Regions from separate parts of the Homo sapiens genome. Here all the other regions are linked to region 1. The links are contacts of gene promoters, found by promoter capture Hi-C in blood cells and fetal thymus (Javierre and others, 2016). All regions are on one chromosome and are shown on one strand. Each heading gives the region's core, a stretch centred on a gene start or on the middle of the fragment in contact. The rest is flanking DNA. Distances are from core to core; before and after follow the strand shown.

What was found. Contacts are between HindIII fragments. The CHiCAGO score rates a contact against its expected background, and 5 or more counts as called.
Region 2: a fragment that was not itself captured here is called in contact with the fragment with the promoter of CLPSL2 in region 1 in 1 of 17 cell types (neutrophils); the score reaches 5.1 in neutrophils.
Region 3: a contact is called between the fragment with the promoter of ETV7 here and the fragment with the promoter of CLPSL2 in region 1, in 2 of 17 cell types (total B cells and fetal thymus). The highest score is 5.5, in total B cells.
Region 4: a contact is called between the fragment with the promoter of BNIP5 here and the fragment with the promoter of CLPSL2 in region 1, in 7 of 17 cell types (neutrophils, total CD4 T cells, naive CD4 T cells and 4 more). The highest score is 8.4, in neutrophils.
Region 5: the fragment with the promoter of ZNF76 here is called in contact with the fragment with the promoter of CLPSL2 in region 1 in 4 of 17 cell types (total CD4 T cells, erythroblasts, non-activated CD4 T cells and 1 more); the score reaches 11.0 in total CD4 T cells.

The regions. Positions count from the first base shown.
Region 1 is chr6:35,773,481-35,779,504 of GRCh38, reverse strand. It overlaps CLPSL2 (colipase like 2), which reads right to left and starts at 2,907. Exons shown (of 3, transcript NM_207409.4): 1 at 2,803-2,907; 2 at 1,924-2,046; 3 at 1-150. The coding sequence starts at 2,886. The coding sequence ends at 55. It also overlaps the pseudogene CMPK1P1. RefSeq lists a silencer at 2,797-2,926. The HindIII fragment of the contact is 8,503 bases long and covers 1-3,115 here.
Region 2 is chr6:36,585,229-36,591,252 of GRCh38, reverse strand. No RefSeq gene overlaps it. Among named protein-coding and RNA genes, the nearest start is that of SRSF3, 6.1 kb to the left of the region's middle. The HindIII fragment of the contact is 5,571 bases long and covers 536-6,024 here.
Region 3 is chr6:36,384,185-36,390,208 of GRCh38, reverse strand. It overlaps ETV7 (ETS variant transcription factor 7), which reads left to right and starts at 2,540. Exons shown (of 8, transcript NM_016135.4): 1 at 2,540-2,673; 2 at 4,540-4,675. The coding sequence starts at 2,668. It overlaps ETV7-AS1 (ETV7 and PTX1 antisense RNA 1), which reads right to left and starts at 3,589. Exons shown (of 2, transcript XR_926758.3): 1 at 3,279-3,589. RefSeq lists a silencer at 2,310-2,519 and an enhancer at 2,646-3,469. The HindIII fragment of the contact is 3,834 bases long and covers 1-3,380 here.
Region 4 is chr6:36,334,643-36,340,666 of GRCh38, reverse strand. BNIP5 (BCL2 interacting protein 5) reads left to right here and starts at 3,779. Exons shown (of 12, transcript NM_001010903.5): 1 at 3,779-3,955. The HindIII fragment of the contact is 11,027 bases long and covers 1-5,510 here.
Region 5 is chr6:35,257,264-35,263,287 of GRCh38, reverse strand. It overlaps ZNF76 (zinc finger protein 76), which reads right to left and starts at 3,553. Exons shown (of 14, transcript NM_003427.5): 1 at 3,447-3,553. SCUBE3-AS1 (SCUBE3 antisense RNA 1) reads left to right here and starts at 3,833. Exons shown (of 4, transcript XR_001744102.2): 1 at 3,833-3,998. RefSeq lists silencers at 3,121-3,440, 3,451-3,570. The HindIII fragment of the contact is 17,247 bases long and covers 1-6,024 here.

The DNA.
Region 1 (6,024 bases), core at 1,658-4,157:
GTGGCAACCAGGGCCTATGGCCCCAAGGGAGCAGTGACCAGCCTGCATCTTCCTCTAAATCATATGGCACCGGCGGGAACACATCAAGTCCTTGGATATGCACGTCAAGCCCATCCGGCAAGGGCAGATGATGTTGGTAGCTCCCTTGGTCTGCAGGGAGTGGGTATGAGAATCGGGAGTCACCAGGATGCAGGAAGGATGGGGACTTAAACTTCTTGGGGACCAGAACCAAGAGTACCAGGCCTGGAGTAAGACAGACCTGGGCTGTCTCTACAGCTTATAACTGCGTGACCTTCAGCAAGTCAATGAACCTCTCCAGCTCGGTTTCCTCATCTGTCAAATGGGGACAGTAATAGTAACCCCCCTCATAGGGTTGTTGTGAGGACTAAATGAGATAGAGCAGATCAAGTGGTGATAATAAAAAGACCCTTTAGGCCATGCGCGGTGGCTCACCCCTGTAATCCCAGCGCTTTGGAAGGCCGAGGCGGGTGGATCACCTGAGGTCAGGAGTTTGAGACTAGCCTGGCCAACATGGTCATGGACTAATAATATAAAAATTAGCACATGCCTGTAATCCCAGCTACTCCAGAGGCTGAGGCAGAGGAATTGCTTGAACCCAGGAGGTGGAGGTTGCAGTGGGCCAAGATCACGCCATTGCACTCCAGCCTGGGCAACAAGAGCAAAACTCTGTCTCAAAAAATAAAAAAAATAAAAACCCTCTAGCCACTTCAGCTATAGGGTCAGGCCATGGTAGGGGCCCTGCTGCTTCCTTAGGGCATTGGCAACTCCCCACACAGGGACATAGAGGCTGGGTCCATCCATCCTAGAAAGGTTTGGGCCCAGGGCCAGGTGGGCAGGAACAGGGCGTACTGAGCATTCTGCTCCCTGCATTCCTAAAAGCGAGTGACAACCATGCTGGACTGCACACTCTCCTTGCCAGGACCACATAATCTTCCCAACAGCCTGGTGGGGTAGGTACTTTAGCCTCTCCTTGTAGATGAGGAAACTAAGGCTCAGAGAGCCATGATGACCTGCTTGAAGTCACAAAGATAGGGTGTGGAAAAGTCAGGATTTAAACTCAGGTCCAACTGCAAAGCTGTGGTCCTGCCACTGCAGTGCCATGCTCCTCTCAAGAAATCATGTCACTGTGGCAGGGAGATGGGGACTAGTAAGGGGAAGGTCATTTCCTACTTACCCTGCCTCAGTGGTGTGAGAGAAGAGATATTCATTCATTCAACAAGCATTTATTGGCCGGGCACGGTGGCTCATGCCTATAATCCCAGCACCTTGGGAGGCCGAGCCAGGTGGATCACCTGAGGTCAGGAGTTCAAGACCGGCTTGGCCAACATGGCAAAACCCCATCTCTACCAAAGATACGAAAATTAGCCAGGCATAGCGGTGCACCCCTGTAATCCCAGCTACTCGGGAGGCTGAGGCCCAAGAATCGCTTGAACCCAGGAGGCAGAGGTTGCAGTGAGCCGAGATCATGCCATTGCACTCTAGCCTGGGTGACAGAGCGAGACTCCATCTCGAAACAAACAAACAAACAACAATAAGCATTTATTGAGCACCTACTATGTGCAGATACTAAGCTGGGGGTAGGTGCTTCATAGATGAATATGATGCGATCCCTGCCCTTGAAGAGTTCCAACCACTGGGAGAGGCAGAGAAAAGACATGGCCAGTTAGGGAGATACATGGTCTGCTGAGGGTCTGACCCCAGGGTACAGGAGCTCCAAGGAGGGAAGCCTTCTCAGAGGAGGTGGCTGGAGTTGTTTTGCACCATGAGTAGGAGTTTGCCAAGTGGAGAAGAAGAAGGGCACTCCAGACAGAGGTGAAAAAACAGGTGGGGCCAGGTGTTTTTTTTTTAACCTCCCTGCCCGCTTCTCTACTTGCCAGAAGTTGCCCCATACTAGGGCCTCACCTGGGGCAAGCAGATCATGGTTATTCTGGCCCTGGGGGCACAGAAGGCTCCACCGGAGTCCAAGTCCATGAGGCAGCAGCCACTGTAGCACTCAGAGTGGTGGAAGCACCTGTCTGTGATTTTCTGTGGGGACAGGCAGAATGTCTGCCAGGCTGGGAGCAATCCCTGAGTCGTGTGGGCGGGTAGGGGAGGGTTCCCACCATTGCCAAAGAGCCCAGGGATCCAGGAGAAGTCATGAGGTTGTCACCCCTTGGGGGGCTGGTTCCCCCCCCAGCCCCACCCCGGCCCCTCAGCAGGACCCAGGGCAGCAGAGAGGAGGAGAGGGGGATTAGCACTTTTCCCTCGGCCTCTCCTTTCCTGGACCCCCCTCACCTCCATGAGTCCCATGGGGTGTGTACTCTTAAGTCCCATTTTGCGGGGCAGGGTTGGGGGATGAGAATGAAGGGGCTGCGGGCTCGAAAAAGAGGGAGAGAAAGAGGAGAAAAGGGGAGAGCCCTCGTGCCTGGAAGAATCACTAGACAGTGAGAGGAGGTGGAAGAAGAGGAGGAGAAACCAGAGCATGCAGGGTGGGTTTGCCTGTGAGCAGTTTGGGGAGGGAAGCGAGCCCAGGACTGAGGCCATCGGAAGGGGCACGGGCGGGGGAGGTGGAGGGAGCGAGGGTGCTGGTCATAGGCCAATTTCTCTCCCCTCTGAGGCCACCAGGGGAAAGTGAAGCGGCTTTTGAAGTCCGTCTGAGGATGCCCCAGGCTACCCGCCTGGGTGTGGTTCCGGACCCACCTCTCCCTTTCAGGCTGCCCGGCGCCTTCGGGCTCCAGTGCCCCGGCGGCGGGGCCACCCTCTCCTGCGGTCGCGGCCGGCTGGGCGCGCTCCCCGGCTCACCTTTTTATATTGCGGAAGCGCGCTCCAGAGGGGCAGCACCGCCCCCGACAGGACCCCCGCCACGAGCGCCAGGGCTGCGGCCATGGGCCTGGGCGGCAGAGCAGCGGCGGGGTTCCGAGGGGCCGCGGGATAAAACCTCTTCCCCGGCCACGTGACCCGGCGCCCCAGGCCACCCCGGCGGAGGAGGGACGTGGAGGGCGAGGACGCCTGCGGAAGGGAAGGAGGGAGGAAAGGCGCTCAGGCTCGCACGGGCGGGATTCCAGACTGTAGGGGCCCTGGGAGCCTCCATACGTGTTACTTCCAAGTAGAAGCTTGAAACTGTAAGATAAAACTCTATTTTTATTGTAAGATAAAACTCTATTTTATTGTATTTATTTATTTTACAGACGGAGTCTCGCACTGTCGCCCAGTGCAGTGGCGTGATCTCGGCTCACTGCCATCTCCGCCTCCCAGGTTCAAGTGATCCTCCTGCCTCAGCCTCCCGAGTAGCTGGGACTACAGGTGTGCGCCACCACGCCGGGATAATTTTAAAAATTTCTGTAGAGACGGGGGTCTCCCCATGTCGCCCAGGCTGGTCTCTAACTCCTGGCCTCAAGTGATGGTCCTGCTTCAGCCTCCCAAAGTGCTGGGATTACAGGTGTGAGCCACCGCACCTGGCCTCAAAACTTTATTTTTATAAACGGCACAAAACATATATGCTGAAATAAAAAGAGCTTCCTTCCTGATGTTGATTCTCTGTCTGCCCTTGCAGCCCCAGATTCTCCCCTTACCTTCGGGATAATCCAGCCCCACCCTCTGGGCTGCTCACACCCGCTGCAGGCCCCATTCTCCTCTTCTGTAAGAACCAGGAGGTGGGACAAGATGGTCTCTAAGTCTTAAATCTCTTGCAGTCTTAATCATTCTATTAATTGTCTAAGGATTTGTCTGTGAATTGTGTGAAAGTCAAGATGTGGGGGCAAAATGGAGAAGTGGGAAGAGAAGAAAACTCAGAATAGGGAGGAGGGTTAAGGGAGAGCTAGAGCTGCACAGAGCAATCCTGGAACCGGGGGAGGCAGGCCTTCCTCAGGACTTCCCTATGGATGAAGCTTCCACCTCACCCCACCTGCCTGCTTCTGCTTTTTTTTAATTTCTATTTTTTTTTAATTTTGTATTGTTAATATTTGTTATAGAGACAGGTTGTCCTTATGTTGTCCAGGCTGGTCTTGAACTCATGGGCTCAAGAGATTCTCCTGCCTCGGCCTCCCAAAGTGGTGGGATTACAGACGTGAGCCACCACTCCCAGCCTGCTTCTGCTTTTGAAGTTTCGCTTAAGAAATGAACCGAGGAATCCTGTCTTGGTGGGGAATAACAGCCAAGAATAACAGCCCCCACCGCACTCAGAGGGCCTTGTATCCATTATTTCCGTGAGCCCTCCCTGTATTAACACTAGCTGTCACAGAGTAATTAACACTGGCTGTAACAACAGAACTCCTGGAATTTCGTGGCTTGGCACAATAATGCTTTATGTACAGTCTGATTTGGGGCAAGATACCCTTCTTCCATCCTGTAGCCATCTATAAGACTGGCCTCTGGCTGGGCATGGTGGCTCATGCATGTATTCACAGCACTTCGGGAGGCCAAGGAGAGAGGATCAGTTGTTTTGGGGGTTTTTTTGGTTTTTTTTTTTTTTTTTTTTTTTTTTTTTTTTGAGACAGAGTCTCACGCTATTGCCCAGGCTGAAGTGCAATGGCACAATCTCGGCTCACTGCAACCTCCGCAAAGTGCTGGGATTACCAGTGGGAGTCACCATGCCCGGCTGAGAGGATCTCGTGAGCTCAGGAGTTCAAGGCCAGCCCTGGGCAATATAGTGAGACCTCATTGCTACAAAAAAAATTTAAGAAATTAGCCAGACATGGTGGCACATGCATGTAGTCCTGGCTACTCGGGAGGCTGAAGCTGCAGTGAGTTATGATCGTGCCACTGCACTCCAGCATGGGCAACAGAGTGAGACCCTGTCTCAAAAAAAAAAAAAAAAACTAGCATCCAAGGTCTCCATGGAAGACCTGCCTTCTCCACTCACAAACCACCTGCTGGAACTAGTCACATGATCCCAACCCTCTAACCTTCTGCAAGGGAGGCTGGGAAATTCAAAGGAGTCTTGGAATATTTAGCATCTACTATCATTTCTGCTGCGTAACTCTTAGCCCTGTTTTACAGACTAGGAACCTGAAGGCTCAAGATAAAGTTACTTGCCCAAGGAACAGGATTAAATGGCAGAGTCAGATATAAATCCAGGGCATTCTAGCTCCTGGGTCCAAGTTCTTACCACTGATCTACACTGCTGCGGGCGGCCAGAGGGCTTTGGCCCTAGTAAGGGGGTTCCCATCATTACCTAGTAAGGGGGCTCCAGCAGTCGCGGTCTGAGCTCTCTTCATATGTGTGTTCTGCTACCTTGGCTGACTAGCGACCCATCCACGCAGACCATTTGTGAACTGGAGAGGAGGCCTGGGGATGGATACTTCCTTGTACTGCTTCACCGGCTTCCTTTGCCCATACCCCCATGACCGTTAGATACTTGAGAAGTATTGTTGACTGCTTAGGAAAGTGGCAAATTTGAAGGCAAGGGGCCAGCAACTGCGTGTCAGGGTTAGCAGCCCCTGGGGAACCCACTGAAGGCCCTGAGGGGTGGTGAAGCCCCTGGAATTCTGTACAAAATATTATGGGCATGGCTTTTTTTTTTCTTAAGCCAGAGATCTTCCGGTTTCCTCAAAAACAACTAGTTCAGAACCTTTATTTTCAGTTGAGGAAACCGAGGCCCAGAGAAGGCAGGGACTTCTCCCAGTAACTCAGCTGGTGAGTAGCAGAGCCAGGCCTAGCTCTGCTCCTGACTCCAAGTCCTGTACCATGGCCTGCCAGCACCGGTCACAGGCACATGTCCAGGGTACCTCTGCATTGCGGGGGAGTAGGAACAAGATCACCAGGGTCTCCAGCGCCGGGAATCCCTGAGCTGCCTGACCTGTGAGCATGGCCACAGCTCTGCCCAGGGCCCAAAACTGGCCACCTCAGACTTCAGTGAGCAGAAGGGGGTCAGTTCAGGACAGGGGAGCACCTTGCTGGTGGACTTCTTACCCCCTATTTCCTGCCTCTTCACCTTCCCCTCCTCTGACAGTCTCTAACGTCTCACTTCTTTTCTTCTGCATCTTTCTGGTGGTGCAAGTGGTGGTTTCCATGACAATGTTCTCA
Region 2 (6,024 bases), core at 2,072-4,571, 810 kb before region 1:
AGTCAAGTCTAGTCAAGTGTGTTGTCTTTCAGTGGAACTCTCTTAATCCCTCTACCTCTAGTAACAAAAACATTCTGAACCTCCCCTGGCCATCCACAACTTTTCATCTTCTAGCGACTTCAGACAAATGAATTATCCACTTGCTTTAGAGGTGTTTTTTGTTGTTGTTGTTGTTGTTGTTGTCTCACTCTGTCACCCAGGCTGGAGTGCAGTGGCACAGTCTCCATCTCGGCTCACTGCAGCCTCCACCTCCCAGGTTCAAGCGATTCTCCTACCTCAACCTCCCGAGTAGCTGGGACTACAGGCATGCGCCACCACGCCAGGCTGATATTTGTATTTTTAGTAGAGATGGGGTTTCATCACGTTGGCCAGGCTGGTCTCGAACTCCTGGCTTCAAGTGATCTGCCCACCTTGGCCTCCCAAAGTACTGGGATTACAGATGGGAGCCACCACACCTAGTCCTGTGGAGTATTTTAATATTCCTTTAAACTTATACGACCACTACTCTTGTCTGGACCCTCGACTACCTGAAGCTTCAAGGAGACATATCAGGGTTTTTGGTACAGACACAGAATGGGAATCATATGTTGTAGGAATATCTCTTGATTTTCTTTGGGAAACCACCTTTCTCACAGTAGTACATATTATTGATTTGAATGTGGTTGGGTCCTACACCCCTCTTTTTCAGGGGTAGGGAGGTAACCATTCTGGATTAATTAAATCATCCAAGTTCTTAGTCCTTCCCTTGTGCCTCCCCCACCATTAGGAATGAGGATGAGTAATCCAGTCAGACCAGTCAGCTGCTGATCCAGCACTGTTCATAGGCCAACCAGAGAGAGGTGTGCTATTTCCCCTGATTAGCACAGTCCTGAGCCGGGGCAGCCAGCCTGTTTCCAGGAGGGAAGAAGCAGCCTGAGGTAGACCCAACACAGTGGGAAGGAGAACTGCAAGGTGGGAAATAAGGAGCCATGGAGAGTCTTGCTTAAGAAGGCTTTTTTTTTTTTCTTTTTTTTGAGATGGAGTCTTGCTCTGTTGCACAGGCTGGAGTGCATCGGCGAGGTCTCGGCTCACTGCAACCTCCACCTCCCAGGTTCAAGCAATTCTTGTGCCTCAGCCTCCCAAGTAGCTGGGATTACAGGTGTGCACCACCACACCCGGCTAATGTTTGTATTTTTAGTAGAGACGGGGTTTCACCATGTTGGCCAGGCTGGTCTTGAACTCCTGACTTCAGGTGATCCGCCCGCCTCAGCCTCGCAAAGTGCTGGGATTACAGGTGGGAGCCACAAAGCCCAGCCTGAATTCCCAGTTACTTGAACATACAGTCAGCCCTCTGTATCTTCAGGTTCCTGCAACCAACTGCAGATCAAAAATATTTTTTAAAAGAATAAAACATAATACAGCATAACAACCATTTACTTATATTGTGTTAGGTATAATTAATGTAGAGTTGATTTAAATTATAGGGGAGGATGTGCATAGATTATATGCAAATACTACATTTTATATAAGGGACTTGAGCATCCTTGGATTTTGGTATCCTCAGGGGTCCTGGAACCAGAACACCCACCACAAAGAGATCACCATACAAGTTCCTACACTTTCCTCAAAGTGGCTTAAGCCACTTTGAGTTAGATTTTTTCCTGTCATTAGACATCAGAAAGATTCTAAATACAAATATTCTTTTTTATTTTATTTTACAGAGGTGGGGGTCCTGCTATGTTGGCCAGGCTGGTCTCGAGCTCCTGGGCTCAAGTGATCCTCCTGCCTCTGCCTCCCAAAGTGGCCACCACACCAGGCCAAGATTCCAAGTACAAAAATTATTCTGACACAGACTTCTCACTATCTCAAGTTGAGAGCATGGTACTAAGTTACCTTTCAATTCTAAAATTCACCTGTTACCAATTCACTATTTTTGTTTGTTTGTTTGTTTGTTTTTGAGATGGAGTCTCACTCTGTCGCCCCGGCTGGGAGTTCAGTGTGTGATCTTGGCTCACTGCAACCTCTGGCTCCTGGGTTCAAGCAATTCTTCTGCCTCAGCCACCCAAGTAGCTGGGATTACAGGCGTTTGCCACAACGCCCAACAAATTTTTTTATTTTTAGTAGAGACAGGGTTTCGCCATGATGGCCAGGCTGGTCTGGAATTCCTGACCTCAAGTGATCCGCCCGCCTCGGACTCCCAAAGTACTGGGATTACAGGTGTGACCCACTGCACCTGGCCACGTATATATATTTTTTAACTTAAAATTTAAAAAATGTTTAATTTAAAATTAAAAACAAAAAATGCTGGGCACAATGGTTCATGCCTGTAATCCCAGCACTTTGAAAGGCTGAGGCGAGAGGACCACTTCAGGCCAGGAGTTTGAGACTGGCCTGGACAACATAGCAAGACCCCCCCGCCCCGTACAAAAAAATACAAAAATTAGCTGGGCATGGTGTTGTGCGCCTATAGTCCCAGCTACTTAGGGGGCTGAGTTGGGAGGATCACTTGAGCCTGTGAGGCAGAGGTTGCAGTGAGCTGAGATTGCACCACTTCACTCCAGCCTGGGGCACATAGTGAGACTCTGCTCAGAAAAAAAAAATTTTCAAAAAAGAAAGAAATTACTGATGGCCAGGTGCTAAGAGTTTTGTATAAGGTTTAATGTTTTTGTTGTTGTTGTTTTGTTTGTTTGTTTGAGACAGATTCTTGCTGTGTCACCAGGCTGGAGTTCAGTGGCATGATCTTGGCTCATTCCAACCTCCACCTCCCAGTTTCAAGTGATTCTCCTGCCTCAGCCTCCTGAGTAACTGGGACGACAGGCATGCGCCACCAAGCCCAGCTAATTTTTGTATTTTTAGTAGAGACAGGGTTTCACCATGTTGGCTAGGATAGTCTCAATCTCTTGATCTCGTGATCTACCCGCCTCAGCCTCCCAAAGTGCTGCGATTACAGGCGTGAGCCACTGCACCCAGCCTGGTTTAATGTTTTATGTTTTGGGGGGCCAAGATGGGAGAATCGCTTAAGGCCAGGTGTTCTGAAACCAGCAGTTTTACTATTGTCTCTACAAAAATTTAAAAAAACAAATTAGCAAAGTGGTGCTGCATGCCTGTAGTTCTAGCTACTCAGGAGGCTGAGACGGCAAGGATCTCTTGAGTACAGGAGTTCGAGGCTGCAGTGGGCTATGATTATTTCACTGCACTCCAACTTGGGCAACATAGCAAGACCTTGTCTCTAAGAAGAAAAAAAAATTTTTTTTGGCTATAATCCAAGCACTGTGGGAGGCTGAGGCAGGCAGATCATCTGAGGTCAGGAGTTTGAGACCAGCCTGGCCAACATGACGAAACCCTGTCTCTACTAAAAATACCAAAATTAGCCAGGCATAATGGTGCGCGCCTGTAATTCCAGCTACTTGGGAGGCTGAGGCAGCAGAATCCCTTGAACCCAGGAGGCAGAGGTTGCAGTGAGCCAAGATACCACTGCACTCCAGTCTGGGCAACAGAGTGAGACTCCGTTTCAAAACAAATAGATAAATAAATAAATAATAAAATATTTAATGTTTTAAATATTGTGATTGACTTCAAGTATCCGTGAAGGAAAATCTTAAACAGTATGAACCTTCACAGGCTGGGCGTGGTGGCTCATGCCTGTAATCCCAGCACTTTGGGAGGCCGAGGCAGGTGGATCACCTGAGGTCAGGAGTTTGAGACCAGCCTGGCCAACATGGTGAAACTCCATCTCCACTAAAAAATACAAAAATTGGCTGGGCGCGATGGCTCACGCCTGTAATCCCAGTACTTTGGGAGGCCGAGGTGGGAGGATCACAAGGTCAGAAGATCGAGACCATCCTGGCTAACACAGTGAAACCCCGTCTCTACTCAAAATACAAAAAATTAGCTGGGCATGGTGGCACTCACCTGTAGTCTCGGCTACTAGGGAGGCTGAGGCAGGAGAATCGGTTGAACCCAGGAGGCAGAGGTTCAGTCAGCCGAGATCACACCACTGCACTCCAGCCTGGGCAACAGAACGAGACTCCGTCTCAAAAAAGAAAAACCCAAAAATTAGCCAGGCATGGTGGCTCACACCTGTAATCACAGCTACTCTGGAGGCTGAGGCAGGAGAATCTCTTGAACCCGGGAGGCAGAGGTTGCAGTGAGCCAAGGTTGTGCCACTGCACTCCAGCCTGGGCCACAGAGTGAGACTCCGTCTCAAAAAAAAAGTAAAAATTTTTTAAAAAAGAGCATGAACCATCACAATAGTTCATTAACTACATGGTTCAGTCAAGATCCTGGCAGAAACCAGATGGCACACTTAAAGAGTTAACCACATAGGGAATTATGTACAGGGGTGTGGGCAGAGTTAAGGAAACCCATAGTGGGTAAGGGCAATCCCAAAGGCAGCTCGTAGGCCCAATGGGGCAAGGAAGGGAGCAGGGTTACCAAAAACAGCCAGCTGCTGTTGCTGTGGGAGATGAGCTATTATAGCTTTAGATAGAGGAACTGTGGCAGCCCAGTTTTGGGGGTGTGGGGCTAGAACCACTCTCTCCATTGTCCCATCTTTTAATGGTGACATCTTTTGCTCAAAACCAACTGGAAGCCTGAGGGCAAGAGAGCTGGGTGATACAAGTCTAGAGGTTGGTTGGCCAGGGCACAGAGCAGGGCTGAGAAGGCTAGAGAACTGATCTAGGGTTGTGCTGTCCAATATGGTAGCCACAGGTACCTGTGGCAAGTTTAGTCCTAATTGAGATGTGCTGTAAATGAAAAATACATGCTGGATTTTAAAGACTTTGTATGAAAAAATAATACATTATTTCATTTGATTTCAAGTTCAAATAGTTTTGATGTACTGAGTTAAAAAACTAGATTAAGGGCTGAGTACAGTGGCTCACACCTGTAATCCCAGCACTTTGGGAGACCGAGGCAGGCAGATCGCTTGAGCTCAGGAGTTTGAGACCAGCCTGGGCAACATGGTGAAACCCCATCTCTATCAAAAATACAAAAATTAGCTAGGCATGGTGGCAAACGCTTGTAGTCCCAGCTACCAGGGAGGTTGAGGTGAGAGGATCACTTTAACTCGGGAGGCAGAGATTGCGGTGAGCTGAGATCATGTCACTGCACTCCAGCCTTGACAACAGAGCGATACCCTGTCTCAAAAAAATAAATAAATAAATAAATAAATAAAATAAACTATATTAAAATTAATTTCAGTCAGGCACAGTGGCTCACACCTGTAATCCCAACACTTTGGGAGGCTGAGGAGGGCAGATCACCTGAGGTCAGGAGTTCGAGACCAACCTGACCAACACGGTGAAACCCTGACTCTACTATAAATACAGAAATTAGCTGGGCATGGTGGCGGGTACCTGTAATCCCAGCTACTCGGGAGGCTGAGGCAGGAGAATCGCTTGAACCCGGGAGGCAGAGGTTGCTCCAGCCTAAGCGACAGAGCAAGACTCTGTCTCTAAATAAATAAATAAATTTTGGCCAGGCGCAGTGGCTCATGCCTGTAATTCCAGCAATGTAGGAGGCCAAGGCGGGTGAATCACTTGAGGTCAGGAGTTTGTGGCCAACATGGTGAAATCTCGTCTCTCTAAAAACACAAAAATCAGCCAGGCATGGTGGTGGGTGCCTGTAGTCCCAAGCACTCGGGAGGCTGAGGCAGGAGAATGGCTTGAACAGAGGTAGTGGGGGTTGCAGTGAGCCAAGATCCCACCACTGCACTCCAACCTGGGCAATAGAGCAAGACTCTGTCTGAAACCAAAAAAAAAATTAATTTTATCTGTTTCTTTATACTTTTTAACTGTGGCTGCCAGAACATTTCAAATTAGCCAGTCAAGGTGGCATGGGCCCATAGTCCCAACTACTCTGGAGGCTGAGGCAAGAGTAATGCGCTATCATGGCACTACCAGTAGCTACTGCACTCCAGCCTGGACAGCACAGCAAGACCCCACCTCTAAAAAAATTACATATGTAGCTCTCATTCTATGTCTACTGGACTGTGTTGATCTACAGGGACAAATAGAAAATAAGCACACACAATTACAATAGATA
Region 3 (6,024 bases), core at 1,291-3,790, 610 kb before region 1:
TGAGACCATTGTGGCCAGCATGGTGAAACCCTGTCTCTACTAAAAATACAAAAATTAGGTGGGTGTGGTAGCACGCACCTGTAGTCCCAGCTACTCGGGAGGCTGAGGCAGGAGAATCGCTTGAACCCAGGAGGCGGAGGTTGCAGTGAGCCGAGATCATGCCACTGCACTCCAGCCTGGCGACAGAGCAAGACCCCATCTCAGAAAAAAAAAAAAAAATCACAACCATGTGAAAAGGTTTACAACAAAAACCCTTTCTATTATTTTCTACTCTAAATTCCAGTTATGCTTATTAGTTTTTATGTATCCTTCCAGAGGTTCTTTGTATAAATACTAATTAATACATACATACATACATACACACACACACACACACACACGTATATTTACATACAAGAGGTAGCATGTAATACACACTGTTTTGTACCTTGATTTTTTTACTTAGCGTGGGTGTTCAGGCACTGTTCTGGGTGTTTTATAAAAGTTAACTTACTTATTCATAACAACCTTATGGGATAGGTATTATTATTTGCTCTTTTTTACTGTTAAAAAATTGAGGCAGTAGTTAGTAGAGGGAGGCAGTAGAGTGGTTAACACAAACTTGCTCAAGGGCACACAGCCAGTAAATGACATGGCTGGGATTCCAAACCAGGCAGGTGTTCCTAAGTCTAGATTATTATCCACTATGCCATACTGCCTCTTGGAGAGCTTGCCATGATCCACAGAGAACTCCATAAAGTGTTGTATTGTATTCAGTTAAATGAATGTACATAATTTGGCTGGGTGTGGTGGCTCACATCTGTAATCCCAGTGATTTGGGAGCTGAGGTGGGAGATCACTGGAGCCCAGGAGTTGGAGGTTAAGGTGGGCTTTGATGGCACCACTGCACTCCAGCCTGGGCGACAGAGTGAGACCCTGTCTCTAAAAAAAAAAAAAAAATAGAAAATTAAAATTAAAAGAAATGAATGTGCATTAGTTTATCAAGCCTCCTTTTGTGGACACCTGAGTTATTTCTCATACTTTGCTATTATAAACCATGATTAAATAAGTAACTATGTATACTTTGGATATTTGTTGAATAAATTTCTGGTAGGCAGATTGCTGGGTGAAAGGAAAATGCATTTGTAAATTTGCCAGACCCCGCTGTGGGGTTGCACCACTTTACCTCAGCTTTTCCAGCAGATTATGTTAGTAAACTTTTAAATTTTTGCCAAATTTATGGGTAAAAATTTCTATCTCAGAATAACTTTAATTTGCACATTTAAAATAGTGAGTTTGTCTGAGCATCTTTTTCTTTCTCTGCTGCCCAGGCTGGAGTGCAGTGGCACAGTCACGGCTCACTGCAGCCTCCAACTCTCAGGCTCAAGCGATCTTCCATCCTCAGCCTCCTGAATAGCTGGGGCTACAGGTGTAGCCCCACCATGCCCGGCTAATTTTTTAAATTTTCAGTAAAGACAGGATCTCACCATGTTGTTCAGACTGGTGTCCAACTCCTGGGCTCAAGCGATCCTCCCACCTTGGCATCCCAAAGTGCTGGGATTACAGGCATGAGCCACTGCACCCTGGGCATCTTTTTGTATATTCAGGAGCCATTTGGCATTTCCTTTTATGTGGACTGTTTATTCATATCCTTTGCTCATTTTTTTTTCCTACTGGGTTTCTGGCCTTGTTCTTACTGGTTTCTTATTGCTGGCCTAGAGCTTGTGATGATATACCAGTGCTAAGCCTACTTTGTAACAGCGTCTACACCCTCAGATTTTCAGCAGAAGGTTGTTAATGCTTTTCTTTCCTTTTCTTCGGTGTCTTCTGGTTTGTTTTTATGCGCACAACCTCTCTTGAGACAGGGGGAGCTGAGACAGATGGAAAGGGTGATGGGTGGGCAGGCACCAACCCCGGAGCACCCAGAGGCCCAGGAAAAGGTGTCAGTCGGGATCTCCGAGTAGTCTGGCCCTGCTCAGGAGAGCACAGCCGCTCTGATGGTGGTGCGACGGTTCCGGACCTGTGGGGCCTCAGCGGGGCCAAACGGCAGGCCGAGACAGTATCGGGGCCGGGAAGGTCACTCACCCCTAAAGGGAGAGGCACCATGCGAGGCCCCTTCCTATCCTATGTGCGGAGACTCACAGGGTCCTTCCTGGTCCTGGGCTCGGGACCGTGAGAGACGCAGTTGGTTCCGAGTTCAGGACTAGGGGTCCCCTTAGATCCTCAGATCCTGCAGAATCCCGGCTCTGCCCCAGTGGGAGCCAAGGCCAGGTCGCCAGAGGGACTGTCCGCCGGCTGGAGGCTGTGTGCAGGACCCACGCCTCCCAGGCTAGCGAGCGGGCAGCGCCCCGGTGCTGCGCTCCCACGGGGCCGGCCCCTGCCCTGCCCTGCCCTGCTCCTAGCCCGCAGCGGCGCAAGTGGAACCGCATCCCGCTCTTTCGTTTTCGTTTCCCGGAAGGATAGCGATTACCGGAGCGCCTCGCGCGCCTGCCCGCCTGCGGAGGACCCGGGCGCACACGCCTTGGCGCTTCTCGAAAGAGATTTCCTCCCACGCGACCTTCCAGTTCTCGGAGCCAGGTTAGGGGTTTGGCGGAGGAGGACTGCGGGGCGCGGGCCTAGGGCCCCAGCAGCCACAGCCAGGGGAGCGCTCAAGACAGAAAGCCGGTGGCTTCCTCACCTCCACCTGTAATGCAGGTAAGAGCCTGGCGGCTGAACACGCAGCGCGCACGCAGAGCCACCTGCTCCCGCATCCTTTCCTCACCACCTAGATTTCCAAACCTATTTTATCAGACCTTTTACCTGGCGGGAATCTCTCTTTCCAACACATTCCTAAACCTCACATCCATCCCTCACTCACTTCCCCTTCCACCTCCAGACGCGGGTCACCGCCCCTGACTCTCTCGGTGTCATACACAGCTCTGAAGGCATCACGCACAGCCCCTGCGGGCCCTTTCCGCAGCCCCCTTACCACTGGTCGCCCCTACACCAACCAGATGTGAGGTCTTTGGAAGTTCGTGCGCCAGCCAGGTCCTCACAGCTGGTGAACGCATTCTCGCAGGGAGCCCCTCTTTAGCAGCCTCTCCCCACTCGCCGGTTTTCTAGGTGCCTCGAGACTGCCCCCAGAGCTGGCGCCCCGTCCCACTCCAAGGCCTTTCTCCACTCCCCTCTCGCCAGGACCCATACCCATTATCAGACCCTTCCCTGGCCTCCATGCTGAAACCCAGGAGTCTGATCCTCAGCAGCTCCGTGGCTGGCGTTTCCCAGGCAGTTACAGCCTCGGAATTCCCCGCTCCTCTTACTTGGATGAGGACAGAGGAGTAGACAAAGAGCCTCCTGCAAGCCTCCTTGGCAAGTCCGAGGCAAGTCCTGTGCCTTGAGCCCCTTCTCCAGCAAGGCAAGCTTCCCTTTCCCCACCAGGAGGCAACCCCTGAGGTCTGATTACTTGGGAAACAGCACCAAAGGGGGACCGGCTGGAAATGAAGTGAGAACGACCCGGAAAGGTGTTGAATCCCCTTTCGCAGCAGCCAAGGCTTCTGGAGTTTGCTTTGCTGGCTCCGATCCAAATTCTCTCTCGGCAGATATCTCTCCTCGGATCCCAAGAGATGAATGTAAAGCTTTTGACAATCCTAGAGTGAAAAATGACTTGATGGAGCTGGTTTCACTTTTCCTTTCCGTGCTGTGGCAGCCTGTGGCTGGGCATGAGCCCGAAGGAGCTTCCTATTCCTACAAAATCCTGCCACTTTCTTCATTTTCTCATCTGAATGGATGAACCCCGTCATCTCTGGGGGCCATGCTGATTGTTGAATTGTAAAGATACAGGCTTCCCGTGGTGAGACCTTAGGATTCAGAAATGTATCCTTATCCTTTCTTTTTCTCTTTTGAAAATAGTGTTTGTTTGTTCTGAGACGGAGTCTTGCTCTCTTGCCCAGGCTGGAGTGCAGTGGCGTGATCTTGGCTCACTCCAACTTCCGCTTCCCGGGTTCAAGTGATTCTCCTGCCTCAGCCTCCTGAGTAGCTGGGATTACAGGCGCCGGTCACCACGCACGGCTAATTTTTGTATTTTTCGTAGAGATAATGTTTCACTATGTTGGTCAGGCTGGTCTCAAACTCCTGACCTCAAGTAATCCACCCGCCCCAGACTCCCAAAGTGTTGAGATTATAGGTGTGAGCCACCGCACCTGGTCTATTTGTTTATTTCTGATTTAAGGTCTTTTGATCCTGGCCCCTCAGGTTTCCTGTGTTGTCCTCACCAGGGATCCAGTGAGGATTCCTAGGCTTTCAGATTTCAATCATACAAGTCTTGGCAGGGGATCCCTCTTGGAGTTAGGCACATGCATGGAAAGCTTGAATTGGAAGGATGTCATTTATTGTGTCCACTGGGTACAAAATGTTGATGGTACTGAGTTGAAGATATACATGGTTCCTACCTTTAAGGTTGATGCAGTCTTCTGGTGGAGATAAACACTCTTTCCCTTCCAAAAAAATTCTTAAGACATTTAAAGATGGCTGAGCCTTCACCAAGATGCTCTTCTTTGACTGTCCTGGTTTTTCTCTCTCTAGGAGGGAGAATTGGCTATTTCTCCTATAAGCCCTGTGGCAGCCATGCCTCCCCTAGGCACCCACGTGCAAGCCAGATGTGAAGCTCAAATTAACCTGCTGGGTGAAGGGGGGATCTGCAAGCTGCCAGGAAGACTCCGTAAGTAGAGGGGAGGAGAAAAGCTGAGTTTTTAAAAGTAAATTTTTATTTTGTTTTAGATCCAGGGTCTTGCTCTGTTGCTTACTTAGGCTAGAGTGCAGTGGTGTAATCATAGCTCACTGCACCTTCAACTTCCAGCTCCTGGGTTCAAGTAATCCTCCCACCTCAGCCTCTCCAATAGCTGGGACTACAGGCACACTGGCTAATTTTAAAATTTTTAGTAGAAATGGGAATCTCAGTATGTTGCCCAGGTTGGTCTTGAACTCTTGGGCTCAAGCTATCCTCTCGCCTCTGCCTCTCAAAGTGCTGGGATTACAGGTCTGAACCACTATACCTGGCCCTTAAAATTAAATTTTTTTTTAAATAAGAGACAGGGTTGCTCTATGTTGCCCAGGTTGTTCTCAAACTCCTGGGCTCAAGTAATCCTCCCATCTCGGCTTCCCAAAGTGCTGGGATCACAGGCATGAGCCACTGTGTCTGGCCAAAATTTTATATATATCTCATACCATAACTTTGTATTGCATAAATATATACAATTATTATTTATAATTTGTCAATTAAAAATTTAATTTTTGCCAGGTGCCAAGATTAACTTACCTTCCCTCTGTTTGCTGTTTCTTTGCTGAGTTTTCTTTAGCTTTTTGTTTGTGATGGAGTCTCACTCTTGCCCAAGCTGGAGTGCAGTGATGTGACCTCAGCTCACTGCAACCTCCGCCTCCCTGGTTCAAGCGATTCTCCTGCCTCAGCCTCCTGAGTAGCTGGAACTACAGGTGTGTGCCACCACACCTGGCTAATTTTTGTATTTTTTAGTAGAGATGGGGTTTCACCATATTGGCCTGGCTGGTTTTGAACTCCTGACCTTGTGATCCACCCGCCTCGGCCTCCCAAAATGCTGGGATGACAGGTGTGGGCCACCGCACCCGGCCAAGGTTAGAAATTTTAACACAACTTCTAAGAAACACTTTCTAATAGTGAGGTTCAAACACAAGACCCACAACTCTCCTCTGAGCCCTGGGAAATCCTATTTCCCTAAGACCAAACTTCCTAAGCTCAGAGGCTCACTAAATATCTATTGAATGAATTAATGAATGAATGACTAGGGATCTTCATCAAGAACACCAGGACCTCCAAACAATGCAGGATCACTTCTGTGGGCCCTTCTGAGATGGTCACCAGATCTTCCTGCACACTTCTAGGGACAGGCATTTCCTCCCCTCTTGAGGCAGCCTATTCTCTGATTGCATAACTCAGGGTGCAGGTCACCGTGGCCTATTTTCTCCTAGATTAGAACTCCTGAGCTACCAGTTCTGTTGCCTTGGGTTAGATTTCCCCAGGAGCAGACCCTAAAA
Region 4 (6,024 bases), core at 2,530-5,029, 560 kb before region 1:
AGCCGCAGAGCAAATGAAGATCCAGGCTCATTTCCATATGTAGATAATTCTGCCGGGATGGGGACGGATTTCTGGGAAGCAGCGTTCACACTCAGAGAGGTTAGAGTGTGCCTTGTGAAAATCCTTCTTAGGTTTGTTACTCAGAACCGCCAAATCCCGCGCTCCTGAGACTGGGGCCCTGTGTTCCACCCACTCCTCTCCGTTGGCTACCATCATTTTTATCCAAGACCACGTTTATCTTCCGTGCCCCGTGCTGCACACGCAGCCCACACAAGCGGGTGAAAAATCTTTATAAACAAATGTACAGACTCTCTGGAAAAAACAACAACAAAATCTCAATTGTGTGAATATGCCACTGTTTGTACATTTTCCTGTTAATGGGCATTTAAGTAGTTTCAAGTTTTTGAGAGTTTGGCTCTCACAAACAGCACTGATATACACATTCATATCAAAGTTGTTTCGGGGGGCCATGGGGATGCATTTCTGTTGTGTATCTATCTGGGGGTGGAATTGCTGGGTCACAGGGCAGGTGTTTGTTCAGCTTTGATAGATATTGCCAGCCGATTTTTCCAAGTAGTTGCACCATTTTCCACTCCCACCAGCAGCGTATGAGAATTCTGTTTGCCCCACATGGGCTCTGACACTTGGGATTGTCCGTCTGAGAATGACAGCACAGCAGTATGGCTGAGTCCCGCAGACATGCGGTGAGAAAAGCCAGGCATAAAAGAAAACATGCAGACCGATGATGCTCAAAAATAGGCAAAACTAATCTAATCTGGGAGTCGTGAGGGCAACAAGGTGGGTTCTGGGGTGCCAGGAATGTTCTCTTTCTTCATCTGGGTGGTGGTTACACAGGTTTATTCCCTTCGTGAAAATTCATTGAGCTGTCTGCCTGTGATCTGTGCACCTTTTTATACGTTATACTTAAATAAAAATTTTAAAGATATTCTCTCTCAATCTCCCTCTCTCTCCCTCTGCCATCTTCCCTCCCAGCACATGGTTGGGAACTGTCACCTTCAGAGCCCCCTTCAAGGCTGTGTGACCTGGACTGTTGCACAGGGTGTGCACTCAGAAGGGCAGGGGGCTTGGTTTAATGTTCTGCTGTCTGTCTTGAAACTATTAATACGTTTTGAACAAGGGTGCTTTGTTTTCATTTTGCATGGGGGCTCACTCGTAGTGTAGCCGACCTTGGCCCTGGGACAGGCAGCTGCCAGAGTCTGTCTCCAGATCGTGGAGATCGTCTCCAGGATATGGTCTTTGGCAGGCACTGAGCACAGGGCTAGGTTGCCCCCCGGACCCCTGATGGAGAAGGCGTGGGATGCCCAGAGCTGCCCATGATGGTTCTCCCTCCCGTGAGAACCTAGGAGCGTATGTACCTGCAGATGGGATTGCTGGGTACATGGGAGATGTCTGCACGGTGTGCCACGTGGCTGTCTGCCCCTCCCCTTCTTTTTATTGTGGTAAAATATGCATGACATAAAGTTGACTGTTGTAACCTTTTTAAAGTGTACGGTGCAGTGGCATTAAGCACATTTTGATTGTTGTACCACTCTCCACCATTGAACCATCTCCAAACTCAAAAGTTGAGTTTGAGTGTGCCTTGTGAAAATCCTCCACATCTCAAAAGTTGTGGAGATGGTTGAATGGTGGAGGTAGTGGTACCACATTCCTCTCAAACTGAAACTCTGTACGCATTAAACAACTTCCTATTCCCTTCTGCTTGCTTGTATGATTTTTCTCTGTGTGTTTCTCTCTTCCCAACTACTTTATGGACTCCATGAGGGCTGGGCCAGGCTGGGCATATTCACCTTGGAATAAGAAAGAACACATACAATACACACAGGGCCTGGAAGAAGTGGTTGACACAATAGTTTCATTAAATAAATGAAAAATATGTAATATTATTTAACATTTGTTTGAAGGCTGAGTGACTTCTTGGACTAATAAATTCTAAATTTAGTGCTGAGACAGTGTCTGTCACATAGCTGGATCCAAAACCTGTTGACAGAATGAATGAAGCATTAATAACTCTGTTGCCCGTAATAAAACATTGGCCCTTTATTGAGCCCTTACAAGTACCAGGCACTGTTAATACACAGAAAGAAAGATGTCTGGCACTCCATACATTTCCTTCCTTCCTTTCCTTCTCTTTCTTCCTTCCTTTCCTTCTCTTTCTTTGTTTCTTTCTTTCTTTCTTTTTCCTTCCTTCCTTCCTTCCTTCCTTCCTTCCTTCCTCCCTCCCTCCCTCCCTTTCTTCCTTTCTTTCCTTCTTTTTTTCCTTCCTTTCCTTCCTTTCTTCTTTTTTCCTTTGAGACAGGATCTCACTCTGTTGCCTAGGCTGGAGTGCAGTAGCACGATCATGGCTCACTGCAGCCTTGACCTCCTGGGCTCAAGCAATCCTCCTGCCTCAGCCTCCTGAGTAGCTGAGACTACAGGCATGTGCCACCATGCCTGGCTAATTTTTAAAATTTTTAGTAGAGATAAGATCTCACTATGTTGTCCAGGCTGGTCTTGAACTTCTGGGCTCAAGCAATCCTCCTACCTTGGTCTCCCACAGTGCTGGGATTACAGATGTGAGCCACCATGCCTGGCCTTCTTCTTTTCTTTGTAAGCATTATCGCATTTGGCCCAACTACCCTCTGAGATGACTACTTGTTTTATAAGTGAGCACAAGCTCAGTGACATCATGTCCCCTGCTGTGGTTACACAGCTGGCAGGTGTCTCCAGATGGGGCTGACTCCAAAGTTTGGTGCTTCCATATATATTTTGTGATGCCTCCCTGTGTTAATGAACCAAAACAGAATTTCTTAATATTTTTTTCTTTTTTTTTCTTTTTTTTTTTTTTTTTTTTTTTGAGACAGAGTCTCACTCTGTCACCCAGGCTGGAGTGCAGTGGCACGATCTCAGCTCACTACAACTTCTGCCTCCTGGGTTCAAGTGATTTTCCTGCCTCAGCCTTCCAAGTAGCTGGGATTACAAGTGTCTGCCACCATACCTGGCTAATTTTTGTATTTTTAGTAGAGATGGAGTTTCGCCATGTTGGCCAGGCTGGTCTCGAACTCCTGACCTCAGGTGATCCGCCTGCCTCAGCCTCCCAAATTGCTGGGATTACAGGTGTGAGCCACCGTGCCCGGCCTTTGCTTTCATTTTAATAAAACATGTTTTTCTTTTCTGATTATAAACATGTATTTACACTCTATTTTTTAAAATAAGGCATTACAGAAAGTGGAAATCTGACTTTTTAAGACTTCTTAGAATGTTCTCTCAAGATCCATGGCAACCCTTCCCGGGCATAGCAGATCTGGAACACGTGGCTCTTGTGGGCTCTTCCTTCTGGGTTGTCTCCAGGTCAAGGGATGTATGTATCCCATCGCTGACCTTTCTTTCTAGGTACCTCCCTCCCCACTAATCTTCAAAGATAACTGAGGGATGTTGTAAAGGCAATAAAGCCACCTCGACTTTCTCCCCCTAACCTGCATTTCCCATTAAGTCTTGTTTTCAACTCTACAGGTGGGGTTTTCCCCAGCCAGACCTTAGGTTATTTTCTGAGCTTTGGTTTCTTACTGGGGTTTGGGTGCAATAAGGAAGTTGACAAGTGAAACTGTTTTTTCCAGGGTAGCTGAGCTAAGCCTCTTATCATTGGAGGAGCGGGGAGCAGTCCTGGGATGGGTGGTAACAGGTGGAGGAAGGTGAGCCAGCCCATGGCTCTCTGGATTGGCTGCCATGAGCTCAGTTCCTGGGAGATACTGTATATATGGACGGCCAAAGCATCTTCTGAGACACTCAGAAAATTGCCAGCACCAAAGTAGTGGCATCTTCTCCCTGGGAGAGCTGGGTCTGACTTCTCACTGGACACAACTTCCAGCTGACAGGGAGCAGAGCCTAACACAGAGACCTCTTGTCTGAAGATCCCAGCCCAGGGTGTTCAGGACAGAAGCGATTTCTGTGGTCCAAGGTTGGTTGAACAATACCCTCTCCTTTGGGGGCGGGAGCAGTGGGTATGTATCTTGGGGTCCGGAGAAGAGTTTAGTCCTGGGTGTCAAACCAAGAGTCCAGTCCCAATGCTGCTTCCAGCATGCTGGGCCCTCCCAGAGAGGCAATGGGGGTGGAGGTGGGGGATCAGTTTTCTTATCTCTAAAAAGAGGGAGCAAGGTTCAATGACATTATCTCAACGGGGTGTTTCTCAAAGGGCTCTGGGCTCACTCGGACTTAAAACTCTGTATTCAAGTCCCAATCCTGCTTATTAGCCGCCACCCTGAGCAAGGAACTTCACTTCCTTGGGCCTCAGTTTTCTTGTCTGTAGGATGGGGCAGCATTACATAGCTCACCTGCTAGTTTCCCTCAGGATGTGGTAGAGGTCAAGTTATAGACTTTATGTGAAGGTACATGAGGGAACCCCCTGATAAATGAGAGGTGTTATTATGACCTATGGTTAAATTAAGGTTCTATGAGTTTTAAGGTTTTTGGAAGTTAGTCCAAGAATGGGGAAATCTTATTAAAATAACTCATGGTCTACTGCTCTCTTGGATGGGAATGTAGAGGCTGGGAGGTGGATTATAACCCACAGTCCTGACCGACTCCTCACACAGTGTTGCATTGCCCGTGGTCTTGGATAGAGGACAGAATGGGGTGGGGAGGGCATGGGTGTCTATACCTAGGCACACGTGATTGTGTGACTCCATGTGCATAGGTCATGGTAGGTGTGTATGTGACTGTGATTACCTCCATCAGTGTGAAATAGCAGGTTTCTCCCCTAAGTCCATGTGTAAGTGCGTGCATGTGTATCTATGCTTACATGAGGCCATTTGGTGTAGAATAGAGAATGTAGGATTTGAATCGGGAGAAGTGGGAGAGTCTCAGCTCTCTGCTTCCCGGCTATGTGACCTTGGGCGTGTCTCTTAATGGTCCGGAGCCTCAGTGCCCCACTGTTAGCCCATCTGATTCACTGCTCCTGGCAAAGATGAAATGAGATCATGTCAATGAAACGGCTCTCTGGACGCCGTGTGGCTGCATGAAGGTGAGCTGGTTTGGGTTTGCACATGCCTGTGTATCATTTGTTTGTTTCACAAACACTGAGAGCCTCCCAGGCTCAGGTCCCCTCTCATGGAATTTAGAGTTAGGACCGATGGCAAGCGGTGAGCTTGGTCACATAATTATTCCCTTACACTTGGGACAGGAGAAATACAGGGCGTCTTGAGTCCATGTTGGTCTGTGGTGTGCACAAGTGTGTTCTGGTGACACGTGGATGTCTGTGGTGTTGACTGTGGGTCCACGTGTGTGTGCCACACACTCTGTCCCTCAGGGTGCTGCTGTGGGTGTGCAGCAGGTTGGCTCTCTGTGAAGTTTCTATTGTGTGAATCATGGGGTGGAGAAGGGGAGCCGCGAAGTTATCTCCATGAAAGGCACCAGAGCAGTTAGAGAGTAACGCGGCCAGGTGAACAAATTAGAGAACAGCATAGAGATGAGGTCACCGTGCAACTTAGAAAGTAAACAACACACAGCAGCAAGCTTGGGGAAGGCAAGCAAACTTCCCGTTCCAGGGTCAGCTTTGTGAGCCTTCTCTGGTTCTTTGTTGCTGTTGCTGGACATGTCACCGGTAAATGTCACATCTTATCAGAAGCAGTCTTGTGATGTGCAGATCACTTGGGTATTTCTGAGCTGATTTGGACTTTGCTCTGACATCCACTTTCGGCCAAGGCAATAACAAGTTTACAAGATCAGCTGGGTTTCCGCATAGTGAGACCACGCTGCTCACTTAGGATTCCTGGTCTGGAGCACAGTCTGCACAGGGTGGGATTCCCTGGTGGTCGGACTGAACGTAGTTGAGCACCTGGGGCACAAAACAAAAAAAGAAGAAGAAAGGAAAGGAAAGTCTTGCTTTGATAAATCCTGGATAGCAGAATTTTATATTTGGAAAGTCTTGAACGGTTTAATTTTGGCACATGTAGGAAAGGGGAGGTTATTAGGATTAAAAGACAAGCTTCCCAGGGCTTAGAGACTGAGGACACCCCATCCGCAGAGGTT
Region 5 (6,024 bases), core at 2,304-4,803, 520 kb after region 1:
TCCAGGAGACACAGCTAGATTGATTCTGAAGGACTTCAAAGGGCTCTCTCCCTGCCCTCTAAAAAACCAAGATCCTTTGGTGATCTATTATCAGAAGTCATCAGAAGTTCCCAGAGAAGAGTGTAGTTCTCTGGATAAACCGAAGAGACTGATGAAGTTTGGTGGAACAGTGCAGCATATGAAGGAAGCAGAGCTGAAAGCAGCAGGGGCATACGCATGGCCCTGGAGATAGATGCACAAGAGAGTGGAGGAAGAAAGGAGCAGACCTGAGATGGAAGGGAGATTTATATTGTAATCAATTATCAAGATTGGTGAGGTGAGGATGGCTGAGGGGACAAATAAGAGGAAGGCAGGAAGAGGAGGCCCTGTGGAAGGGTGAAAGACAATCCGGGTTTGAAAAGGTGAGGGAGGAATCTGAGAGGCAGGATCTCACAGGATACTGGGCAAGGGTATGAGAGGAGAGGCCTTAGAATGGGAGGGTGTGCAAGTTATACAGGATTGCTTCATGCTGGGATGGAAGGAGCCGATTCCATTGAAGCTAGTCACATCAAGAGGTCACTAAATGAAGGACAAATTATATGAAGGTTTCAGGTCACAGAATGTGGCTGAGGATGGCAGAAGGTGGGGTGGTGGGAGTAGAACACTGAGACTAAAAAATAGGATGAAAGGCAACTGGGCTAGATGGTTTTAGAGCATACAGACTTGTGGATTCCTGGGGCTAAGGGACTTAACAAGATGAAAGGATTTGGGGTAAAGTGCCAGTGAGGTGGGAGACACTGTATGGTGAGTGAGTTCACAGGGAAAGGGCTGGAAGCGTCAAAGATTCATAGAACAAGAGATATTTGGGCAAAGGATGAAGAGAGAAGTTGACTGGGTTCAAGACACTACTCCAAAATATGGCAACTTGAGAAAATGGCAGTAGGAAGGTCACTCTCACTTTCTCTGAGGCTCTTCTCCCCTGAAGCAGATCACAAAACCTAGGAAGGATTTTTCTGACTTTCCCCTGAAGCAGGTCATAATACCCTCCTCATAAAGAGGTGCCCTCCCTATACTCAGAGGAAAGAAGCACCCTTATCTGTGAAGACACAGGGACACAGAGAAGAGTCTGAACAAACAGGCCTTGCTAAGTTTCTCCCAGTTTATTACTATTTGATATTACCCTTTTTGTATTTTTCCACAACTATCCACTCTTCATCAGATCTAGTATAAAAATATACAAGTTTAATCATTTCTTTAGGTCTTCATTTCCTTATGAAGGCTCCTGTCACATAAAACTTACATTAAATAAATGTATATAATCTTCTCTTATTAAATCTGTTGTTATAGGGGCCTAAGCCATGAACCTAAGAAGATATTTTCCCTCCCCTACAAGGTGCAGGGGCTTCAGGGGATATGAGATCAAAAGTCATGAACAGCAGGATGAGAAAGTCACCAAGTTACATGGCAAACGGTAATAGAAACCTTGGGGGTCAGGGCCAGTCTTGGTGGCTCACGCCTATAATCTCAACTACTTGAGAGGCTAAGGTGGGAGGATCTCTTGAGGCTAGGAGCTCAAGAACAGAAACCTTAGGGATCAAGGAACGAGCTGATGTTGTATTTAGGAATTACTAGAAAATAAGGAATAAGGAGCTGAGGTTGAGTAAGTCTGGGGGAAAGACAGGCAATGGAGTAGGGTTTTGTTTTGTTTTTTTAAACTGTGGGTTCAAATCTTAGCTCTGCTACTTAGCTGTGAGAGTTTCTGGTTCATTTCTCTGAAACCAACCAACCAACCAAACAAAAATATGGGAAGGGAAAATGGTGGATATAATAATAATTAACTCTTGGGGCTGTTGAGACGTAAATTTAACTTATATATCCAGAGCTTGGCACACAGTAGGTATTCAGCAAGCCAATCGTTATTGAGGCAAAATCAGGGTAAGAACCAGAGAAGTGAGGCTACAGCAGAGATGAGAAGATAGGGATTCCAAGATGTCAGTAGTAGCAACATAATGCAAGGTATGGGCCACATGTTCAGTCTGTTAAATCCCTAGCACTCAGGACAGAGTAAGATCCATAGCAGCTTCTCATTTCTAACAACAGCTTATGCTAAGGGTTCCCATGAGCCAGGCATGGTGCCCGGTGCTTTACATATGTTATGTCAGGCACTACTATTTTCTCCCTTCGCAGAGGTGGAGACTGAAGTTAAGACAGGCTAAATAATATACCAAAAGTCCCATAGCTGAAGGGCCAGAATCAGTCTGGAACCTAGGTTTGTTATGAACTCAATGCCCCCAAATGAAGCACTCTGCTATACTGCTTTGCAAACATGTTAACTGATGGGGCCTGATCAAGGGAAATGGGTATGCACTATGAAGAGTGAAGAGGGTGATCCGGGAATGAGGGAGTAAGGTTCATGATGCAAGCAGATCCTGGGATGAGGTTACAAGAGGAAATTTCCAGGGTGGGGTACAAAAATGATTGCAAAAAATTATTATCTTGACTGAGAACTGCATAATTTCACAATTTCACAGACGGAAGGAAACTCAAAGATCATCTAACCCAACCTCATCACAGTCATGATGAGAAACTGAGGTCCAGACTGAGGAGGGGACTTCTCACAGGTCCCTAAAGCACAGCAGTGACAGAGCTGGGACCACACACTGGATTGACTGGATTCTGGATTGATCCAGAATTCTCTGATGCCTCCAATTATTACTACTTCATATTAATCTCTATATCCTCCTTAGCACCAGAAAGGTGCTGGACGCTTGTAAGTCATGTGCTGATTGACACTGAAGGGCTGGGATCGCAGAGAGAGATGCCAGTGGGGGTGATTTTAGGATAAAGGCAGACGTGGAACGAGGGTCATACGGCTACAGGATAAAGATACTGAGGGTTGTGTACAAGGTGAGTGCGTGGAAAACTATTGGAGTAGGGCTTAGGAGTCGCCAGCAGAGTTTTGAGGGGAGTCACCGAGTTTGTGGGGAACACAAGGTAGAATCGGGGGGGTTACTGGGCCAGGAGGGTTACCCAGGTTTGGGGGTCACTAAGGAGGAGTGTGGGGATCTCAGGGTCATGTGAGTCACCGGATTAAAACTGAGGGAGTCACTGGTTGGTGGGTCTCTGAGAAGTGCTGGGGAAATTCCTGGGTTAGCAGCCAATGAATAATAACCAACGGTTACCTGGTGAGGTCTTGGGGTCAGTGGGTGGGGTGTGGGGTCACAAGGGTGGAGGCGGGCGCCGTCACGGGGTGAGGTTTGGGAGTCACGGGGGAGGAGCCGCAAGGCGGAAAAGAGGGGCAGGGACCCTGGGTGGGGGAGGGGGCCCGGCCGCGGTCCAGCGGCCAGGCCGCCCTGCTAGGGCCGGAGGGAGGTGGGCACGCCGGGCTCGGGACCTTCCCGGGGTCCTGCGCCCGCCCGGCCTCCCGCCCTGGGCATGGTTGGCCCACTCCTCCCGCAGCCACCAACCTGACAGCCCCCGAGGGCGACTCCGCCGACAGACCGCCATGCACCGGGCCCCGCCACCAGCGCCGGCCCCACAACCCGCCTGCGCCATAGCCCGCCCGCCCGCGCGCAGCTTGCCTCGCGCGATATCCAGGTTCCAGGGCCGCCGCACTTTCCTTTCCTCTTGGCGCGCCTCTACCGGGCCCCGGAACCCGTATAGAAAATACCGGGCACGGTCCACCCCGCCCCCCGCTTCGCCGCGGCAGCCATCCAACTTATCCTGGTTCCGGGGCTCCTGGAGCCCAGGCGGCCGGGATCTGAACCGAGCTCTTCGGAGCCCCGCCCCCACCAAGGCCGGGGTGACGCATGGCCAGCGAGGCTGAGCGCCCAGGGAAGGCGTGCTGACGTCACGACGCCCGGGTCAGGGCCTGGGCGCGGCTCGGAGCCGGGTCGTCGCTATAGCAATCGGGAACCGCTACCTGTCCATTCCAAGGATTCGGTCCAGCAGAAGCGTGAGGAGGTGGCGGAGGCCCCGAGGGCTTTGCGTCATCACTTCTGCGGCCTGCGGGCGAGAAGGTGCGCTTCGGGAGTAGCGCGGGAGGACAGGAGGCGCAGGTTGTGAGGGACGCAGGCCCTGGGGCTTCGGTCTCTGTCCTCCGAGCTCAGAGCCTCCAGGCTTCTTCCCGGCCGCGCGCTCAGCACTCACTGTCTTACGGTCCCGAAGCGCTTTAAGGTGCGCAGTCCGCAGGCCTTGCCTACTGATCTTCCAGCCACCCCTTGAAGGAAGCAGTTGCAGGTATTAAGAGCTCCTTATTGAAAAGGACGATGTAGAGGGGCGGTGAGGGACTCGCCTCCGCAGGGAGGGCGCCCTGGCGGTCTTCTCAGGTTCTCTCTCATTCCCGCGTCAGCTCCACCGTCAGGCTCGAAACCGACTACTCCCTTTTGTAGGCTTGCTTTGGGTTGAACATAAAAACCAAGCCCCTTTACTATTTCCCTGCTGGGAGGGGCTGCGATTGGGAAATTTTCAGAAACCTGAGGGAAAATTAAAAGGGAGCGAGCTTTCGGTAAAAAATCAAATTAAAAAGGAGGGGCGTTAGAGAAGGAACTGGTAAAGATTGCCTTTTAGGAGAGGAACTGGGTGGCTGGAAGAATGAGGTGAGAAACTTTCCCCTCTCTATCCTTTCAGACTTTAACTGGTTTCTTTTGTATCTTCCCCGCCCCGAAAACAATTTAACTTAATAAGAATAATTTTTAAAGGACGTAAACTAGACACAGTTACAAAGTACGGGGTTTGGGGCTTGTGGTAGCTAAAGGTGTCTTTGGGGATGCGGGCATCCTTTTCCTCTCCTGCCTGAAGAGCTTAACTAGAAAGCCCCCCTTTCGGTCTTAGACATCCCCTCTTCCTGACTTGTTCTGGCTGGGACCAGAGTTCAGTTTAGGTAGGCCAGTGAGTGACATTTGATGGTTAGAATTCCTACGGTTAGAATTAATCCCTTCTGTATCTCCTAGTATGGAAATAAACTGCCTGGCCACTATGCTGCCCTCTTTCCATTCCTTTTTGGTGGAAGTTTGACAAGTTATTTCCCATAGAAAATAACTTATAGGCCGGGCGCCGTGGCTTAAACGCCTGTAATCCCAGCACTTTGGGAGGCTGAGGCGGGCGGATCACGAGGTCAGGAGTTCGAGACCAGCCTGGTCAACATAGTGAAACCCCCCCTCTCTACTAAAAATACAAAAAAATTAGCTGGGCGTGGTGGCGGGCGCCTGTAATCCCAGCTACTCCGGAGGTTGAGGCAGGAGAATTGCTTGAACCCGGGAGGCGGAGGTTGCAGTGAGCCAAGATCGCACCATTGCAGTCCAGCGCGGGCAACAGTGTGACTCCGTCTCAAAAAAAGAAAAAAAAAAAGAAAAAGAAAAAGTACCTTATAGATACAGAGAGAAGATTAAGTAGCTCCTCTTATAATATGAATTGAGGGTTAGAAATACCGCAGGGAATAGAACTCAGGCTGTACCTGAGTTTGTCCCTCTCCAACCACCCTTTTTCCATAGCTCTCTCTGTATATATATATCTGTCTTTTCTCACATTCCTTACGGATCGTAATCTGATGGCCAGTCACCTCTGCAATTATACATTTAACAAGAGCTCTGGGAAACAGTGTCTGAATCTGAAGTAATGATCCTAATGGAAGGTAATTTCAGGTTCTCAGGAGAATTGGTGAGGATATTTTGGAGGGCAGTATTGAAGACCATTGCTAGCAGTTTCTCTCCTATCCCTTCCACTCAACATATAGGCTGGTGATCTTCAGACATTTTTTAGAATGAACCCATAAAAGAATTTTGAAGAGCTATGTACCTCTTGTTCATTTTTAAGTTGATACCTAAATTTTCCTTCATTAATTTAAATACTTATAGAGGATACAATTTCAAATTTTGACATCTTAAACTAAGACTTACATCATTCTTTTTTTCTGAGACGGAGTCTCGCTCTGTCAACCAGGCTGGAGTGCTGCAGTGGCGAAATCTCAGCTCACTGCAACTTCCCCTTCCAGGTTCAAGCAATTCTCCTGCCTCAGCCTCCCGAGTAGCTGGGACTACAGGTATG